Regions from separate parts of the Homo sapiens genome. Here all the other regions are linked to region 3. The links are contacts of gene promoters, found by promoter capture Hi-C in blood cells and fetal thymus (Javierre and others, 2016). All regions are on one chromosome and are shown on one strand. The core of a region is centred on a gene start or on the middle of the fragment in contact, and the rest is flanking DNA. Distances in the headings are between cores, read along the strand shown. Region 1 overlaps ZFP14 (ZFP14 zinc finger protein). Region 2 overlaps ZNF461 (zinc finger protein 461). Region 3 holds the start of ZNF284 (zinc finger protein 284). Region 4 overlaps ZNF790 (zinc finger protein 790).

Region 1 (4,792 bases), core at 2,105-4,604, 7.7 Mb before region 3:
TTCAGTTCTTTTCCTCATTTCCTGGCTTACTGTCCCTGGTTTCTGACTGCTTTGTGGTGAAGCTTCAGAATTGGAGAGAAAAAGAGGCCAGAATTGGTGGCTTATGCCTATAATCCCAGCACTTTGGGAGGTCGAGGCAGGCAGATAACTTGAGGTCAGGTTATAAATGTTTAATACCTAAAATGATCAATACCTAAAAAAAAAATTTTTTTTTTGAGAGGGAGTCTCATTCTGTCACCCAGGCTGGAGTGCAGTGGCGCGATCTCGGCTCACTGCAACCTCTGCCTCCTGGGTTCAAGAGATTCTCCTGCCTCAGCCTCCCGAGTAGCTGGGATTACAGGTGAGCACCACCACGCCCAGCTAATTTTTGTATTTTTAGTAGAGATGGGGTTTCACCATGTTGGCCAGGCTGGTCTTGAACTCCTGACCTCAGGTGATCCACCTGCCTTGGCCTCTCAAAGTGCTGGGATTACAGGCGTGAGCCACCGCACCCGACCGATACTAAACTATTTTAAGAATCCTGAAAAATCAATAAATGAGAATGCAAAAAAAAATACAGCAAAGGCATCATTAAAAAGCACAGTAAACACGATTGGCCAATAAACGCATATGAACAGATGCTTGACTCACTTGTAATCAAGGTAATAATTTTTTTTTTTTTTGAAACCGGGTCTCACTCCAACACTCAGGCTGGAGTGCAGTGGCATGATCACAGCTTACTGCAGCCTTGACTTCCCAGACTCAAGTGATCCGTCCACCTCCGCCTCCCAAGTAGCTGAGACCACAGGCACATGCCACCGCACCCAACCAATTTTTGTATTTTCTGTAGAAATGGAGTTTTGCCATGTTGCCCAGCCTGGTCTCGTACTTCTGGGCTCAAGCAATCCTCCTGCCTTGGCCTTCCAAAGTGCTGGGATTATAGGTGTGAGCCACCGTGCCTGGCCCAGTGTAATAAATATTGAAACTTATAGCAGAGGTAGGGAAATATGAACACTGATATTCAATGATCAAAGGGATTCAAAACTGGAACAATGGTGGAGCCACAATTTGGCAATAAGCAGTGAAGCTGAAAGTGTATACAGCCTATAACGAACAATTTCATTTCTAGGTAATACCTTAGATTCTTGACTCTTTAAGGAAATTAAAAAATACACAAAATGATATTCAATATAGCATCTTTATTACCACAGAAACTCATTTATGTCCTTAATCATTGTTTAATATAATATATAAGCATGTTTAACACAAACATATCAAGGATCGGGCTGGAATCTTTTCCATTCTATAGAAAAGCACTAACCATCCATTAAAGCAGGTAGCTACTTTCAGAGCATGATATGAGCTGCAAAAAATTGCCCTGACTTATGCCGCCCCCAACACAACCACTCACCATATCTAAAATTACACCCTTGAAGACATTCATTGTGGTTATGGTAGCATCTAACAAAGCTGTTCCTATTCCAGATATTCGGACTGAGAATTCCACAATAAATTTGAGATACACTCAGTTAAATAAAAATGTCTTTACTAAATCTTTGGCAAACTGATCATGTATACTTTGAATTCCTCAAAAGTAGATTTTTATTTTATTTTATTTGAGACTGAGTTTCACTCTTGTTGCCCAGGTTGGAGTGCAATGGCAAAATCTCAGCTCACTGCAATCTCCATTTCCTGGGTTCAAGCAATTCTCCTGCCTCAGCCTCCCAAGTAGCTGGGATTACAGGTGCAAGCCACCACGCCCAGCTAATTTTGTATTTTTAGTAGAGACAGGGTTTCACCATGTTGGCCAGGCTGGTCTCAAACTCCTGACCTCAAGTGATCTGCTCGCCTTGGCCTCCCAAAATGTTGGGATTACAGGCGTGAGCCACCGTGCCTGGCCAAAAGTAGATGTTTTATGTTTTGCTTCATTTGCCTATTTTCCCAAGAAATCTTTTTTTCAAATACCATCGAGAATTAATATTCCTTGAAGCAAACTTCTGGAGAATGTTGAATTTAGGGGTCAAACACAGGCTTTCTGGAGGTATTTGGTGCTTGGGAAAAGAAACACTGACCTATTAGCAAAGATAGATTTTGTAATAAATTCTAAATAAACTTTATTTAGAATTGTGAAAAATAGAATCTTCATAATGAAGGTGGTCTAGAATTTGCTTTCAGAAACTATCTTCATCTAATTTTTATTAGGATTATTTTACCTTGCAGAATTAATTGGTAAAATCTTTAGGATTATCTATTCCTTAAAGTTTTTATAAGTATCAGATTTTTTAAACAGGGAGTTCACACACACACACACACACACACATTTTTTGTTAATCTATTTGGGTTATACGGTGAGTTAATTGTAAAACATATTCCTTTTGGGGGAAAAATGCAATCCTACATTTTTACTTGTACTGGAATGAATATACACGTTTGTGCATGTGTGCATGTATAGTTTTACCATATTATGTTTATTATTTTTGAGACAGGTTCTCACTCTGTCACCCAGGCTGGAGTGCAGTGGCGTGATCTTGGTTCACCGCAACCTCTGCCTCCTGGGTTCAAGCAATTCTCCTGCCTCAGGCTCCCCAGTAGCTTAGATTACAGGTGCCCGCCACCATGACAGGCTAATTTTTGTATTTTTAGTAGAGATGGGGTTTTGCTATGTTGGTCAGGCTGGTCTCGAACTCCTGACTTCAAGTGATCCACCCACCTCGGCCTCCCAAAGTGCTGGGGTTACAGGTGTGAGCCACTGTGCCCGGCCTAGTTTTGCCTTATAATTTTAAAAATCTGCTTGATATAATCTAGAGTTGTGTCTCTTTTATCATCATTAATACTCTAAATGTATTATCTTTCATTTTCTCTTCCTTGATTATAACTGCCAAAATCTAATCACTATTAACATTGAATCAAGTCTAATATTCTCCATTCTCTTAATTTCTACTTTCTACTGTTACTTGGCTGTTCCTTTTTTTTTTTTTTTTTTTTTGACAGACTCTTGCTCTGTTACCCAGGCTGGAGTGCAGTGGCGCGATCTCAACTCACCACAAACTCCGCCTCCTGGATTCAAGTGATTCTCCTGCCTTAGCCTCCCAAGTAGCTGGGATTACAGGCATGCACCACCATGCCTGGCTAATTTTGTATCTTTAATAGAGATGGGGTTTCTCAGTGTTGGTCAGGCTGGTCTCAAAATCCCGACCTCAGGTGATCCACCTGCCATGGCCTCCCAAAGTGCTGGGATTACAGGCATGAGCCACCGCACCTGGCCACTTGGCTGTTCTTTACTTGGGTTGGTTTTATTTTGTTGTTTCCTTTTTCTTGACGGAAATACTTATTCATTCCCTCAACACATTCATCTGTGTGACAGGCCTGGTGTTGCTGCTGTGGGTAAGTGAAGAAGATGAAGACTGTATCCACAAATAAGATTTCCTTACCACATTACAGGGCATTAATTTGTCACTGAACAGAACTTTGATTATATCTGACAAGGTTAGATGTGCAGGCATCTCACTGTCATTCATTTCTACATAGTCTATAATTTTGGTTTTGATTTTAAACATTTTATTATTGAAATTTCAAACACATACAAAAGTAGAAATATTAGAACAATAAGTCTCCATGAACAAAACACTCCACTTAAATTATCAACATGTTGCCAATTTAGTTTCCAGCTCTCTTTGCCAATTATTTCTTTTGCTAGAATATTTTAATCCAAATGTGTCTATCTTCATTTCATAGTATGTATCTCATATCATACGATCTTTTATTTTTTATAATCACACTGACATAATCCCTAACCAAATTAATATATGTAAATATCATTTAATATTTAGTCCATGTCCACACTTCCCTCACTGTCTCCAAAATGGCTTTTTATGTTTTGTTCAAACCAGGTCCAAGTAATGCCAACATACTGAATTTAGTTGATATGTCTCTTTAAGTCTCTTTTAATCTGTTAATGGTTGCCCTTCCCCTTGTATTTTCATGCTACCTGTTAGTTGAAGAAATCAGGTAATTTGCTCTGTAGAATTTCACACATTCTGGATCTGTTTGGCTTCTTCCTTGTGGTGCCCTTTATAGCCAGCCCTCCATATGTGCAGATTCAACCAATCTCAAATAGAAAATACTCAAAAAAAAACAATAAAAATAAAATACAATAAAAATAATGCAAATTGAAAAATACAGTATAACAACTATTTACATAGTATTTACATTGTGATAGGTATAAGTGATCTAAAGATAATTTAAAGTATACAGGAAGATGTGAGTAGGTAATATGCAAATACATACTATGCCATTTTATACAAGGGACTTGAGCATCCTCAGATTTTACCATCAGTGGAGGATCCTGGAACCAATTCCCCATGGATACCAAGGGATGACCATATACTGTTCATCTAGTCCCTGTCTGCTTTCAGTTCATTATTCCAGCAATAAGGCTTTGTAGATGGTGGTGTGGACTTCCTATTGCATTACGTCAGGAAGTGTGTTGTCTGATAGACCCATTTTTATTAAGGTTAAAACAGATCAAAGGGTTCAGAGGTGGCCAGTTTGATAGATCCACCATAAAAATCTCGCTATAAAATATTTCACCTATTAGTTGTAGTACCCATTGAAGATCATGTTTTCTGGACCCATTATTCCATTAAGGTCTAGAAAATGGTGATTTTTCTAATCCTCTAATTCCTTCTAGATTTATTAGACTTCTTCAAAAAAGAAAAACCCATTCAAAAAACAAATTTTTTTTTTGAGACAGGGTCTCACTCTGTCACCCAGGCTGGAGTGCAGTGGCACGATCTCAGCTCACTGCAAACTC
Region 2 (5,122 bases), core at 2,518-5,017, 7.4 Mb before region 3:
ACAAAAACTATAAAATTTCTAAAAAAGAACATTGGAGAAAATCTTAAGGACCTTTGAGTAGGCAAACAGTTCTTAGACGTGACACTAAATACACATACACACACCAAAAACACAATTCATAAGAGAAAAGAAGATAAACTAGACCTCATCAAAATTAAAAACTTTTGCTCTGCAAAGACCCTGTTAAAAGGATAAAAAGACAAATTACAGGGCAACCCGCTGGGGTCCCCTTCCATGCTGTGGAAGCTTTGTTCTTTCGCTCTTCACGATAAACCTTGCTACCGCTCAAAAAAAGACAAATTACAGACTGGGAGAAAATATTTGCAGGTCATAAATCCAACAAAGGCATTCTGTCTAAGATACAAAAAGAACTTTGAAAACTCAACAATATAAAACTAACCAAATTAGAAAATGGGCAAAAGGCATGGAGAGACATTTCACTAAATAGGATAGACAGATGGCACACACAGATGTTCAACATTACTTGCCATTAAGGAAATTCAAAATTAAAACCACAATAAGATATAATTACCCACCTATTAGAATGGCTACAATGAAAAACAATTAGAACACCAAGTGCTGACTATGATTAGAGAAACTGGATCACACATACATTGCCAGTTAAGAATGTAAGACGGTACAAACATTGTTGACAATAATTTGGCAGCTCCTTGAAAAACTAAAAATGGACTTATTACACCACCCAGCAACTACACTCTTGAGCATTTATCATAAACAAATGAAGACTTGTTTTCATGTACAAGTTTGTACATGAATGTAAAAAACAAAAACCCATATATATGTGTATGTGTATATGAAATAAAAGGAAAAAAGCCATTTTCCAAAGGACAAGTATTGCAGGATTCTATTTATGTAACATTTATGAAATTACATAATTATACAGAGAACAGAACAGTGGTTGCCAAGGTGTATTAGTCTGCTCTCATGCTGCTGATAAAGACATACCCAGGACTGGGTAATTTATAAAGAAAATGGTTTAATGGACTCACAGTTCCATGTGGCTGGGGAGGCCTCACAATCATGGCAGAAGGCAAAGGAAGAGCAAAGGCACATCTTACATGACAGCAGACAGGAGAGAATGAGAGCCAAGCGAAAGGGGAAACCCCTTATAAAACCATCAGATCTTGTGACACTTATTCACTACCACGAGAACAGTATGGGGGAAAGTGCCCCCATGATTCAATTATTTCCCACCTGGTCCCTCCCACAACACGTGGGAATTATGGCAGCCTACAATTCAAGATGAGATTTGGGAAGGGACACAGCCAAACAATATCACAAGGGTTAGGAAAAAGAGAAATGGGATAAGTATAGCTAACACAAGGGAGTCTTGTGAGGTATTGTTGAGTATTTTGGCTATTGTGGTGGTGACACAAGGCTACATGTGATAAAACTGCATAGAGCTATAAATATACACACAGAAATGAGTGCATGTATAACTGGTGAAATCTGAGTAAGTTCTATGAATTGCAGCAATGTCAATTTTTTGGTATGGTATTGTACTATAGTTGGGTAAGGTATTAACCCTGGGGGAAGCTGCAAAGGGGGTACACAGGACTCCCCTGTACATTTCTTTGCAACCTCTTGTGAATCCATAATTATTTCAAAATAAAAAGTCTTTTTTTAAAGAAAATTCATGCCAAGGAAAAGGCCTACCCAGGTATAAAAAAACTGGTAAAGGAATGTTATCTTTACATTAAAATATGTATGAGAATATGTACCATTTTTCCATGATTCCTCTCTATTAGTTTCCTAGGGCTGCCATTAACAAAGTCCCACAAACTGGGTGGCTTAAAACAACACAAATGTATTCTCTCACAGTTCTGTAGCACTTGATTGATTGATTGATTGAGACAGGGTCTTGCTCTGTTACCCAGACTAGAGTGCAATGGCAGAATCATGGCTCTCTGCAGCCTTGACCTCCCAGGCTCAAGCAATACTCCCAACTCAGCCCCTTGAGTAGATGGGACTACAGGTAGCATGCCACCATGCTAGGCTAATTTTTTTTTTTCTTTTTGGTACAGACAGGGTCTCACTATATTGCCCAGACTGGTCTCAAACTCCTAGGCTCAAGCAATCCTTCCACCTTGGCCACCCAAAGTGCTGGGATTACAGGCATGAGCCACCATGTTCAGCCTATAGCACTTCAATGAATCACAGACATCATCAAAGAACTCTAGCCTGTAGAATGGATCTGCCCTTGGTCTATAGCACCCCAAACTTTCCTGGTTGATCTCCTTCCTTCTCAATCATCCCTCTGCCATCTCTACCTCCTCAATATAGTCATATATTACTTTCTCTAACTTTCCTAATTTCTGATCAACACTATTTTTTTGCCTAGTGATTCTATTAGAACATCCATCCATGTATTGTTGATCCCCTGTTAGATTGAAAACGTCTCTATAACACTTTAAAAATGTATTCCCATCACCTAGCAAAGCAACTTGTATGGATCTTTTATCTATTTATTTAGAGACAGCATCTTGCAGTGTCACCTAGACTGGAGTAAAGTGGTACAATCTTGGCTCACTGTAGCCTCAAACTCCTGGGCTCAAGTGATCTCCCACCTCAGTCTGCTGAACATCTGGGACTACAGGCATGTACCACCATGCCTGGTGAATATTTTAATTTTTAATTTTTTGTAAAGACAGGGCTTTTGCTATGTTGCCCAGACTGGTCACAAACTCCTAAGCTCAAGTAATCCTCCCACCTGAGCCTCCCAAAGTGCTGAGATTACAGGTGTGAGCCACTGAGCCCAGCCTGAATCTTTTAAAAAACTAATAAGCAGGCTGGGCACAGTGGTGTATGCCTGTAATCCTAGCACTTTCAGAGGCTGAGGTGGGAGGATTGCTTAAGGAGGTCGAGACCAGCCTGGGCAATACAGTGAGACCTCATCTCTGCAAAAAATTAAAAAATTAGCCATGCATGGTGGCATGGGCCTGTAGTTCCAGCTACTCAGGAAACTTAGGTGAGAGGATTGCTTGAGCCAGGGAGGCAGAGGTTGCAGTGAGCTGAGTTTGCACCACTGTACTCCATCCAGCCTGAGTGACAGAGTGAAACCCTGTCTCAAAACAAACAAACAAAAATTAATAAACACTATAGATTGTGTCCTTTGATGTACAGAAGTTTTTAGGTTTGATGTAGTCCCATTTGTCTGTTTTTGCTTTTGTTGCCAGTGCTTTTGGTATTATACACAATAAATCATTGCCAAATCCAATGTCATGAAGCTTTTCTCCAATATTTTCTACTTAGAGTTTTATTGCTTTAGCTCTCACATTTAGGTCTTTGATCCATTCTGAGTTAATTTTTCTATATGGTGTAAGACAAGGGTACAACTGTATTCCTTTGCCTGTGGATAATCCAATTTTCTCCATGGAAGTGTTGGCACCCTTGTCTAAAATAATTTGACTATTTATGCAAGGGTTTATTTCTGGGCTTTCTATTCTATTCCTTTAGAATATCTTTTTTTTTTTTTTTTTTTGAGACGGAGTCTCGTTCTGTCGCCCAGGCGGGAGTGCTGTGGCGCGATCTCCGCTCACTGCAAGCTCCGCCTTCCGGGTTCACACCATTCTCCTGCCTCAGCCTCCCGAGTAGCTGGGACTACAGGCGCCCACCACTGCGCCCGGCTAATTTTTTGTATTTTTAGTAGAGACGGGGTTTCACCGTGGTCTCGATCTCCTGACCTCGTGATCTGCCCGCCTCGGCCTCCCAAAGTGCTGGGATTACAGGCGTGAGCCACCGCGCCCGGCCTAGAATATCTTTATGCCAGTACCACACTGTTTGATTACTATATCTTTGTAATATGTTTTGAAATCAGGTTTTCCCAAAGTTTGGTTTAAAATAAACTTGCCAGCCCAACATTCTGACCAGCTGGCCTGCTCTCTGCAAGAGCTTCCTGTGCTTGCTCACTCACCTGGGCACCATCTTCCTGTCTCTTCCCTCACAACCATCCAGGGCTCCTTCCCTTGCTCCAATGAGGAGATTACGGCTGGCTTAGAAACAGAAAGTCCTAGTTATAAGAAAAGAAATTGAGATGAGATGGAAATGAATGTATCCAAATACAGTGATTTAGAACTGATTAAAATAAAAATAAATCACAGATAAAAATGGTACTTGATAAGGGATACAGAGGAAATAAAGGAGAAGAGATGAAACACTCATATTCAGATGAACACAGGATCATAACAAACAAAGCAAACAAACAGGCGATAAAATAGTACTTAAATTTATGTAAGGTTTCTCTTTTTTGCTGTGAGGAAAAAAAAGAAGCTTCTTGAGATATTTATTCTTTTTTTTTTTTTTGAGATGGAGTTTTGCTCTTGTTGTCCAGGCTGGAGTGCAATGGCACAATCTTGGCTGACTGCAACCTCCACTTCACGGGTTCAAGTGACTCTCCTGCCTCAGCCTCCTAAGTAGCTGGGATTATAGGCGCACACCACTCTGCCTGGCTAATTTTTGTATTTTAGTAGAAACGGGGTTTGGCCCATATTGGCCAGGCTGGTCTCAAACTCCTGGCCTCAGGTGATCCACTTGCCTCAGCGTCCCAAAGTGCTGGGATTACAGGCATGAGCCACAGCACCCAGCCTCCTTTTTTTTTTTAATGTTAACTGTACAAAGTTCTTTAAAAATAACTTCCAAAGGCAAATCACTTAAAAGAGAGTACAGGTCAGGCGCGGTGGCTCACACCTGTAATCCCAGCATTTTGGGAGGCCAAGACGGGTGGATCACTTGAGATCAGGAATTCGAGACCAGCCTGGCCAACATGGTGAAACCCTGTCTCTACTAAAAATACAAAAATTAGCTGGGCGTGGTGGCGGGCACCTGTAATCCCAGCTACTCAGGAGGCTGAGGCAGGAGAATTGCTTGAACCTGGGAGGCAGAGGTTGCAGTGAGCCAAGATATGCCATTGCACTCTAGCCTGGGCAACAAAAGTGAAACTCTGTCTCAAAAAAAAATTAAAAAGGCCAGGTGCGGTGGCTCATGCCTGTAATCCCAGCACTTTGGGAGGCCGAAGCAGGTGGATCACCTGAGGTCGGGAGTTTGAGACCAGCCTGACCAACATGGAAAAAACACATCTCTACTAAAAATACAAAACTAGCCA
Region 3 (5,527 bases), core at 235-2,734:
TGGCTGTGTCTCCACCCAAATCTCATCTTGAATTATAGCTCCCATAATTCCCACATATCATGAAAGGGACCTAGTAGGAGGTAATTGAATCATGGGAGTGGGTCTTTCCCATGCTGTTCTCGTGATAGCAAGGACAGATAGAGGAGTGACTTTGAATAGAATGGGAGGCAGGTTTGCCCTAAGCGATTTCCAGCTTGAGATTTCCTTAGTGATTTTGGGGGCCCAAGATATTTTCCTTTCACAATACTAAGCAGTTTAATTTCTCTTAAATGTGGCATTTCCACGTCTAAAGAATATTAATATGAAAACTTTAAAAGTGGGAAGATAGCTTTTCCAGGAGGGCAATTGGCCCTCCATATTGGCCCTTGACAGGGCAGGAGCATCGCCATCTTGGACAAACACTGCCATTTTAAAGTTCGCGTTGATCAAAAACTGCCTAAATCCAAAGGGCATCAGCCTAATGGCTAAGGTCAGCATGACCATAAACCACAAATGACATCTCCAATCAGAAACATTCCAACCATAAGATAAACCCCTCCCTGACCAGAGACATGCCAGCACCGAGATAACCTCCCTTCCATTGGAGAGATGTCAGTCCCAAGATAACTTCCCCTCCAACCAGAGATATTCCAACCCCACAACAGACTTCTCCCCAATACAGAAACATTCTAAGCCTGTGGTAAGCTCTCTCTCCCTAAAGCCAATACATACTCTTAGTCCGTAAGAGAGAGCGCTCCTGACTGCAATCGGCCAGAAGGCCCTCTCGGTTTATTCTCCAAAACGAACCTGTCTTTGACTGTTGAGCCGCTTTTCGTGTTTTTTTTTTTTTTCTCTTTAACTCTTACAGCCCTCTTAAACACTTAAACTGTGGTTGTTTTTCTTGCCAAACCAGTGGTACAACAGTGTCTGGTTGTACCAGGGGCTGGTGCCCCACTCAATGCCTCTCCCAAACCATTTTTCCTGGCCCATTATTTAAGCTCTTAGATTTAGCCTCATACTATTAGCGTCTAGTATATTAGCCTTTCAGCCATCTCCTGACCGCTCCACAGTCACTCCCCGCTAACTCCTTGAAGATTGTATCTCCTTGCTTTGTTCTCTTTCAGTAACACTCCTGTCATCATGGGAGGCGTGTAGACTTCAGGAATTCCTGTCTATTCAATATTTTCTCTCGAGGACGCAGGGAGAGGGAAGGACCACTCTCAGGGCCACAGTCCATATTCCAAACCAGGCGCTTGGGTCTATGGGATTCATTCCTCGTGGGCATTGCAGGAAGTGTAGTCAAAGAGCACCGCGGAGTCCCACGCTTCCCGCCGGAAGGTGATACTATAGAACGTCTCCTTTGAGATTCAAGGAAGTGTAGCGCAGGAGATCTGTTGAATGACGAGCAAGTAGGCTCAGGACGGCGTATCCGGGGAATTCTGGGAAATGTAGTTCACACGCTGCGCGGGGTAGGGGCACTTCCGCTCCCGGGGGGCGAGGTTGCTGCAGTGCATTCGGTGGTAGTTTGGTGTCAGTCCTGTGTCTTGTCGGTCCTTCTAAACGTGTCCCCTTACGATGCTGGCTCGCAACCACCTGGAAGTTGACTAAGGGGAGAAGGAGTCTCGTTGGAAAACGGAGGTTTGGAGGGACAACGGCCTCTCTTTTCGTTCTTGTCAGCGGAGCCTTCTTGGTCTTGGGGCTGTCCTCGCGTCCCCGGGCATGAGGCTGGGGGTTGGGACTTGGTCGGGACGCGTCTCGCCTGGTTTGAGGGTTTTTGGGGCTCTCAGCTCGCTCAGTCCGCCTCCCTCCATCCCACCTGTGAGGCTACTTTCTCACAATTTAGGGTTGGGATGTTATTAATCTCCCTGTACCTCCCACTGCTGTTCTTTAAAATGGGGACTTTAGGACCATCCTAATGAAATCGTTTTGGGAACTGGAAGAGGTAACACAAATGAAAGCCTTAAAGCAGCCCCTCCCTTAGTGACTGGTGGTCTCTTCTTAGTGTTTATTTCCCACGAAGCCTGTCAGGTCCCCGGGTGGGGTCAGAGCTCCATCTGCAGGGATCCCCGCCCTTGTCTCTGATTCCTGCAGGACGCTGGGTGATCCCGGACGCTTCTGACCTCTTTTTAGGAAGGCGAGGGTTGTTTCCATTTCCACGAAGGGAGAGGAACATTTAACTTTTATGCCGGACGGCAATGCGGTCAGGGTGTTTCACAGCTTTCTCCTTCCCCAGCCTGATTCTCAAAAAGAGCTGCAGGGAGGGACTTCTTGGCTACTGAGGGCAAAGTTCCACGAGAGTGGTCCTTGGCTTTTTTTCTTTTACAGAGATGCTCACCCCGACCAAGAGTGTAGGATGTGTCCTCAGGCATGGGTGTTGATAATAATTAAGCCTCAATTGGTAACTTTATCCCAAGAGCTTTATACAAGTAGTCACATTTTCGCCACACCGTGGCTCTGTGGAGAGGTACTACTTTTTTCAGTTTTAAAGATGAGTGAGATACAAAGGAGCAGGAGTTATCTGAGAATAGTCACCTAAGCAGTAAGAGGTGGAGCTGCGGTTGAAACCTGGGCGTTACAGGTCAGAGCCTTAGTTGATAATCTTTTGGATACATTCTCATTGAGGCAGAGGAACTAGCTGGAATCTAGTGGGGAAAGCAAGCTAGGACTTGATTGAAGGGAGCCTTGAGAGCAAGGCTTATGGGCTTGGACTGTTCTGGGAGTTTATCAACTATTTCATTCATTAGAACTATTTCATTTATTACAAATATTTCACTTGTTATGCAGCGGTATGATTGTGGAGCGTTCAGAAATTGGAGAAATACGAGTAGTACAAGTTTATAATTACCCATGAATCCAGCATGTAAAGATAGTAACTGTTAAACTTCGAGTGCATTTTTTTTTTTTTTTTGAGACAGAGTCTCACTGTGTTGCCCAGGCTGGAGTGCAGTGGCACGATCTCGGCTCACTGCTAACTCCGCCTCCCAGGTTCACGCCATTCTCCTGCCTCAGCCTCCTGTGTGAGTAGCTGGGACCACAGGCGCCCGCCACCACGCCCGGCTAATTTTTTTGTAGTTTTAGTAGAGATGAGGTTTCACCGTGTTAGCCAGGATGGTCTTGATCTCCTGACCTCATGATCCACCAGCCTCGGCCTCCCAAAGTGCTGGGATTACAGGCGTGAGCCACCGCACCCGGTGCATTTCTTTTTGGTCTTTCTTTGGCATATTTGCATATTTATTTATAAACATTTAAACAAAATTTTATGATTAAAAAAATGTGTTTTCCCTTATGTGTTTAACTATGGAAATTTGGAAACACTGCCAAGAGGGAAATAGCTAGTGAACTTACATGTTATATCATGCTCATCCTAATTTATCTCATCGTTATCTCATTTTTTTTTTGGTAAATGTTTCCTGATATTGGCCGGGCATGGTGGCTCACGCCTGTAATCCCAGCACTTTGGGAGGCCGAGGTGGGCGGATCACCTGAGGTCGGGAGTTTGAGACCAGCCTGACCATCATGGAGAAACTCCATCTCTACTAAAAATACAAAATTAGCCAGACATGGTGACGCATGCCTGTAATCCCAGCTACTCGGGAGGCTGAGGCAGGAGAATCGCTTGAACCCGGGAGGCGGAGGTTGCAGTGAGCCAAGATTGCACCATTATACTCCAGCCTGGGCAACAAGAGCGAAACTGCATCCTCTGCCTCCCGGTCTCAAAAAAAAAAAATATTTAACGTTTTATTTTCATATCATTTGAAACCTATAGAAAAATTGCAAAAATAGTGTTAGAAATTCTCATATACTCTTTACCCAAATTTGCCAAATGTTTACATTTTTCCTGTTTGCTTTGTTCTTGCTGATCACCCAGATACCACCAGGAACATACCTGTAGCCAGAGACAGTTGCTTGTAGCTTTCTGCAGCAAAGAAGCCCACATTTCAAGATAATTGTGGGGTGTCTTGGTAAGAGGTGTTTAGAAAGGGCTGGTTATAGGGTTTCACATAACATGCTAGATACTATTAGATATTATACTGGCTAGGCATGGTGGCTTATGTCTGTAATTGTAGCACTTTGGGAGGCCGAGGCAGGTGGATCACTTGAGGCCAGGAGTTCAAGACCAGCCTGGCCAACATGGAGAAACCCCATCTCTACTAAAAATACAAAAATTAGCTGATTTGTCCACTGTGAAGTTACTTTTTTAAAATTTGAGGGGGCGTGCGCCTGTAATCCCAGCTATTAGGGAGGCTGACGCATAAGAATCATTTGAACCTGGGAGGCAGAGGCTGCAGTGAGCTGAGATGGCGCCCCTGCACTCTGATCTGGATGACAGAGTGAGACTCTGTCTCAAAAAAATAATTAAATATTATATTAAATAATATTGTTATCTATTACATATCACATCTGTTAAAAAGCTAATAATAGTAGTTGTAGTGTCATTTATTAGATAGTGTTGGATACCATATTACATAACGTTGTTATCTAATCTGCAGCTTCCATATTTAAATTTATTCAGTTTCTTCTTTTGGTCCTTATAACTATCCCTTGCCCCACTTTTTACCTGTAACCCCATTCAAAGTCCAATTTTATGCATTGTCTTTATTGTCACATTTCTATACTTTTGTTTAATCTAGAAGGATTCCACAGCCTTTGTCTTTTATATGCATGGTTTTTTGAAGAGTATAGGCAAGTTGTTTTGCAGAAAGACATTCATTTGGGGTTTGTCTGGTAAATTTCATGTTTACGTTTAGAGTATGCATGATTGGCAGGGATACCATAGTAGTGGTGAGATGTCCTTTTCATTGCAACCTAACAGTGTCCAAATGATGTTGGTTTGTCCCTTCACTGGTGATCTCAACTTTGTTCACTTGGCCAAGATGAAGTCTTTCAGATTTGTCCACTGTGAAGTTACTTTTTTTAAATTTTGAAAATAATAAAGTTCCTTATGGGGAGATACATGATTAGTGGACATTCTACTGTAAAGAAGAGTTTCCATTTCTCCCCCATTTATTCATTCCTTCATTCAACTATAAATATTCTATTGATATGGACTCAGAATTCAGTCTTACTGATTTCAATGACATGTAGATTAACAATTATTTTTTCCAATTCTATCAAGATGTATTTCACATATAGCTTTCACCCATTTCAGGCATGGAACTCCGTGATTTTTAGGAATTTTGTGAAGTGGAATAACCATGATCATGATTCAGTTTAGATCATTTTTATCTCCCAGTTGGACTCCTTGTGCCCATTTATAGTTAAACCTCATTCTCATCTCAAATGTGAAGCAACCACTAATCTACTTTCTCTATGATACATTTGCCTATTCTGAACATTTCATATAAATGCGATCACACAGTCCATGGGTTTTTGTGACTGCCTTCTTTCATTTAACATAATGTTTCCAGGGTTCATGCATGTTGTAGCATGAGTCAATATTTCATTTCTTTAAATTTCCAAGTAAGATTTCATTGTATGGATAGGCGACAATTTGTCCATTTACCCATAGGAAGGCATTTTGGTTGTGTGCAATTTTGGGTTATTATGA
Region 4 (5,001 bases), core at 138-2,637, 7.3 Mb before region 3:
GGCACTGTCCTAAGTGCTGTGGATACAGTGCTGTGGATACAGTGATGAAGAGAAACAAACTGCCCTCAGTCTTCTTGGTTTTATACACAGAGCAATTTCTATTGATAACTGTTTTAGTTATTTCACAGGATTTAAAATATAGGTCTCATTATCATTCTAAATACTCTGTAATTTCACTTTTTATTTGCTCTTTAATCTAAGAATGGTTTATATATAGTAGTAAATTTCAAAGAGGTAAGAATCCATATGGCTATCCATTTGCTAGTTTCTGAGTTATAACTGTGGTAAAGAATTATATAACACTTGGCTTTAGAAATTTGTTAGAGAGAAGTTATTTCTGAATGTCTTTTAAAAAACTGCTGAACACTCAACAACCCCACTTTTACTAAAGTCATAAGGCTTTCTTTTATAGGTTTTTTTGATGTAGCATGTGAAATTAATATTCAAAGCTTTCTTCATTGTATTTTACTGATTTTTTTTCAGAATTAACATTCTGATGTTCAGTAAGACATAAATAGAGATGACATATTTGTCTATAATCATTATAGTCTTAAAAGTCCTCCTCTCATAAAATGGCTTAATACCAATACAAATGACAGTCACTAAGTCATGTAAATCTCAAATCATTCAACCCTTATAATCTAATGAATACGATTAAACAGACATAGATTTAAGATACTTTCCAAAAAAAAAAAATAGAGGCAGGATGTATTGAAACAAGACATGCCAAATAAATTGTATGACATAGTTCAAGGCTTTTCTAGATTAATTACATGATTTTTGTGGAAATACAACAGAATTTTGCTAATGATGAAAGATTTCCAAAATGAATTATATATAAATTCTTGTGGGTTTTTGTTTTTGAGATGGAGTCTTGTTCTATCACCCAGGCTGGAGTGCAGTGATGTGATCTTGGCTCACTGCAACCTCCACCTCCCAGGTTCAAGGAATTCTCATGCCTCGGCCTCCCGAGTAGCTGGGACTACAGGCGTGTGCTACCACGCCCGGCTAATTTTTGTATATTTAGTAGAGACAGGGTTTCACCATGTTGGTCAGGCTGGTCTCGAACCCCTGACCTCAGGTGATCCACCCACCTCTGTTTCCCAAAGTGCTAGGATAACAGGTGTGAGCCACCATGCTTGGCCAAATTATATATAAATTCTTTATGCAACATCTCTGATGAGAATGTTTTGAGAATGATTCAAAAAGAATTCATGCTATCTCATAAAATTTTACCCTGATATTCTGCAATTGATAACTGATCAGTAATTTCTTTCCTATATTGATTGCATGATGAATTCTCTGCTGCTGCTGCTGCTGCTGCTGCTGGATGTGTGCTCTGTTAAAATGCCTTCCAATATTACTTACATTTGTGGTGTTCCTCAAGAGAAAAAAATAAATGACATCAATTAATGAGTCATGAATAAAGCCCTTCCTACACTTTTATATAATATTTCACAAGAGTGAAATGAAGTGAGAGCTTGAAGAAAATGCTTTCTCAAAATCTTTAAATTCATAGGATTTCTCAAAAGTGTAAATATTCTGGTGTTGAGCAAAGTTTGACTCATGACTAAAGGTGTTCCCATAGTCTGTCCATTCACAGAGATTTGCACTATTATGAATTTTTTGTTCAGTAAAATATGAATGGTGACTAAAGATGTGGCTACTTTTCTTGCATCCATAAGGTTCTGCATCAGTATGAATTTTCTTATGTCGTGTAAGCTGTGAACCCCAGATAAAAGATTTCCCACATTCTTTACATACGTAAGGTTCCTCACCAGTATGCATTCTCTGATGTCGAGTAAGTTGTGAACCCCAGAGAAAGGCTTTTCCACATTCTTCACATTCATATGGCCTCTTTCCAGTATGAATTTTCTGGTGTCGATTAAGTTCTGAACCACGAAAAAAGGTCTTTCCACATTCCTTACATTCATAGTTTCTCTCACCAGTATGAATTTTCTGATGTCGATTAAACTCTGAGCCATGAAGAAAGGTCTTTCCACATTCCTTACATTCATAGGATTTCCTCTCATTGTGAATTTTCTCATGTTGAGCAAGATACGAAGCCCAAGTAAAAGTCTTCCCGCATTGCTTACATTCATAAGGTTTCCTGCCAGTATGAATTCGCTGATGTCGAGCAAGGTGTGAGCTCCAAATATAGGCTTTCCCACATTTCTCACATTTATAAGGTTTCCTACCAACATGAACATTCTGATGTTGAGCAAGATTTGAACCACGAATAAAGGCTTTTCCACATTCCTTACACTCATGAGATTTCTCACCAGTATGAATTCTCTGATGCTGAGTTAGGTGTGATCCACGAGTAAAAGCTTTCCCACACTCCTTACATTCATAAGGTTTTTCACCAGTGTGAATTCTCTGATGTTTAATAAGATGTGATCGCTGACTAAAGGCCTTTCTACATTCATTACATTCATAGGGTTTTTCACCAGTATGAATTCTCTGATGTCGAGTAAGATCTGAGCCACAACTAAAGGCCTTCCCACATTCCTTACATTCATAAGATTTCTCACCAGTATGAATTCGCTTATGGACACTAAGTTGTGAATGAAATCTAAAGGCTTTCCCACAATCCTTACATTTAAAAGGTTTCTCACCGGTATGAATTCTCTTATGACCAGTAAGACTCGAACGTAAACTAAAAGACTTCCCACATTCTTTACATTCATATGTTTTCTTAACAGTGTGAACTGTCTGATATTGAATAACTTCTGAATCAGGAAGAAAGGTATTCCCACATTCTTTATCTCCACAGAATTTCTCACTTGTGTGAATTAACTGATGTTGAGTATGATCTGAACCAGAAATAAAGGCTTTCCCCAGTTCTTTAAATTCATTCAGTTTGTCTCCTGTATTAAGTCTCTGGTGTAGATTAAACACTGTATGCTGGTTAAAAGTGGGCCTTTTTTCACAGGTGCGTATCACCTGCTTGAAGCATTCCTCTTGATTATCTTGAAGTGTTTGAAACTGAGTGTTGCCTTCCCAGTCACCTCTAAAACATAAACAGTCAAGGCTGTGGTTTTTACAAATTCTCATTATTTCCAATTGGGCTATTTCTCTCTCAAAAATGCCATTTTTTGGTAATAACTTCTTGGTCTGACACCTCGACTGCATGTCTGAAAAATAAGAAGGTAAAAACATCATACGGTTGTATGTACAAAAAGCAATACAACTTCTAAAATAGATATAGAAAATCTTGAAGTAAAGCATATGAGAAGTGAATGGCTTAGAAAATTCTCAAATATGAGCAATATGAAAAAAAGGGCAAGAAATAAGTAGAAATTTAAAAGAAATAAAAGTTGAGTCAAGTGATGAGAAATATGTTTTATTTTGATCATATTCATCTGAGGAGCTCAATAAAAAATGATTATCCAGGTATCACCTCAATAACAGAATAATAAGTCATAAAATACCTACAAGTTTCCAAGTACTATGATGAATGTCTTATATAATTCAGAGCTTAAAAATAGGAATGCTGGGAAATAGCAGAATATCAGTCTAATATGAGGGAAGTAATCTGATCCAGAGTTACCAAAGTACTAGGATCTCAATAGCAGGGTATGCTGCATTTAGGTTAAAGGAGATAATTATGGGTGATAGTTCAGACAGAAAAATAGTTTGAAGGCCAGGTACAGTGATTCACACCTTTAATCCCAGCACTTGGAAAGGCTGAGGCAGATGGATTGCTTGAGCCCAGAAGTTTGAGACCAGCCTAGGCAACATGGCAAAAACCCATCTCTATAAAAAATTAGCCAGGAGTGGTGGTGCATGCCTGTGGTCCTAGCTACCTGGAAGGCTGAGGTGGCAGCATCACCTGAGCCTAGGAGATGAGGCTGCAGGGAGCCATGATCACACTACCACACTCCAGCATGGGTGACAGAGTGAGACCCTGTCTTTTTTTTTTTTTTTTTTTTAATACTTTGAGTTTTAGGGTACATGTGCACAATGTGCCAGTTAGTTACATATGTATACATGTGCCATGCTGGTGTGCTGCACCCATTAACTCGTCATTTAGCATTAGGTGTATCTCCTAATGCTATCCCTCCCCCCTCCCCCCACTGACCCTGTCTTAACAACAACAAAAAAATAGTTTGAGAAATTTTTTCAAGGGAGAAGGAGTCTGGCACAAGCTAAGAATAAGTACTCCTCTGTGACTCTTTTTTCTAATGTATATATTTAGGATCGAGTACAATTGTTATCAGTTTTTCTTGGGAGACAGCAAGTACTCTAGCAGTGACTCAATGAATTGAAAGGCAGTTTAGTTACAAAGTATGAGCAGTAATGTACTGCAATGGAAAGATGACAAACTGCAGTTTCAGACTCTAGTTCTGTTTACTAAAACTACTTTTTAGGTGATTGGAAAATTACTGAGCTTGACTGAGCTCTTAATTTTTCATATTATAAAAAGGAATAAAACATCACTTTGCAGAGGTTTGTTGCAAGGATTGGGAATAATACGCTATTTCTATTAAGTGCCTGACACAGGATACGTGTTGAATAATCAGTAGCTGATGATTATTATTAGAGAGGAAAAGCTGGAGAATACGGGGAACTAGACAAGTCAGAGTTTGTCTTTTTATTTATTTATTTATTTATTTATTTTGAGATGGAGTCTCACTCTGTCGCCCAGGTTGGAGTGCAGTGGCGCAATCTCAGCTCACTGCAACCTCCGCCTCCTGGGTTCAAGCGATTCTCCTGCCTCAGCCTCCCAAGTAGCTGGGATTACAGGCGCCCACCCCCATGCCCAGCTCATTTTTGTATTTTTAGTAGAGATGGGATTTTGCCATGTTGTCCAGGCTGGTTTTGAACTCCTGACCTCAGGTGATGATTCACCCGCCTCGGCCTTCTAAAATGCTGTGATTACAGGCATGAGCCACCGCGTCTGGCTGGGCTTGTCTTTTATGACACTGTGTTCTTCTCGTTGTACTTCATAAGCCCTAACCTTTCTTCTGCCACTTCCTCCTCACTGTGACCAGAAAC

The links. Contacts are between HindIII fragments. The CHiCAGO score rates a contact against its expected background, and 5 or more counts as called.
Region 1: a contact is called between a fragment that was not itself captured here and the fragment with the promoter of ZNF284 in region 3, in 1 of 17 cell types (total CD4 T cells). The highest score is 5.0, in total CD4 T cells.
Region 2: a contact is called between a fragment that was not itself captured here and the fragment with the promoter of ZNF284 in region 3, in 1 of 17 cell types (non-activated CD4 T cells). The highest score is 5.3, in non-activated CD4 T cells.
Region 4: a contact is called between a fragment that was not itself captured here and the fragment with the promoter of ZNF284 in region 3, in 1 of 17 cell types (non-activated CD4 T cells). The highest score is 8.6, in non-activated CD4 T cells.

What each region holds. Positions count from the first base shown.
Region 1 is chr19:36,333,295-36,338,086 of GRCh38, forward strand. ZFP14 (ZFP14 zinc finger protein) reads right to left here. Exons shown (of 5, transcript NM_020917.3): 5 at 1,159-4,792. Among named protein-coding and RNA genes, the nearest start is that of LINC00665, 4.0 kb to the left of the region's middle. The HindIII fragment of the contact is 6,588 bases long and covers 61-4,792 here.
Region 2 is chr19:36,652,514-36,657,635 of GRCh38, forward strand. It overlaps ZNF461 (zinc finger protein 461), which reads right to left. Exons shown (of 6, transcript NM_153257.5): 4 at 3,935-4,030. Among named protein-coding and RNA genes, the nearest start is that of ZNF461, 12 kb to the right of the region's middle. The HindIII fragment of the contact is 1,042 bases long and covers 3,247-4,288 here.
Region 3 is chr19:44,070,675-44,076,201 of GRCh38, forward strand. It overlaps ZNF284 (zinc finger protein 284), which reads left to right and starts at 1,485. Exons shown (of 5, transcript NM_001037813.4): 1 at 1,485-1,617. The HindIII fragment of the contact is 12,821 bases long and covers 1-5,527 here.
Region 4 is chr19:36,816,978-36,821,978 of GRCh38, forward strand. ZNF790 (zinc finger protein 790) reads right to left here. Exons shown (of 5, transcript NM_206894.4): 5 at 451-3,137. The coding sequence ends at 1,456. The region is part of intron 3 of ZNF790-AS1 (ZNF790 antisense RNA 1); the gene reads left to right. Among named protein-coding and RNA genes, the nearest start is that of ZNF790, 19 kb to the right of the region's middle. The HindIII fragment of the contact is 1,881 bases long and covers 448-2,328 here.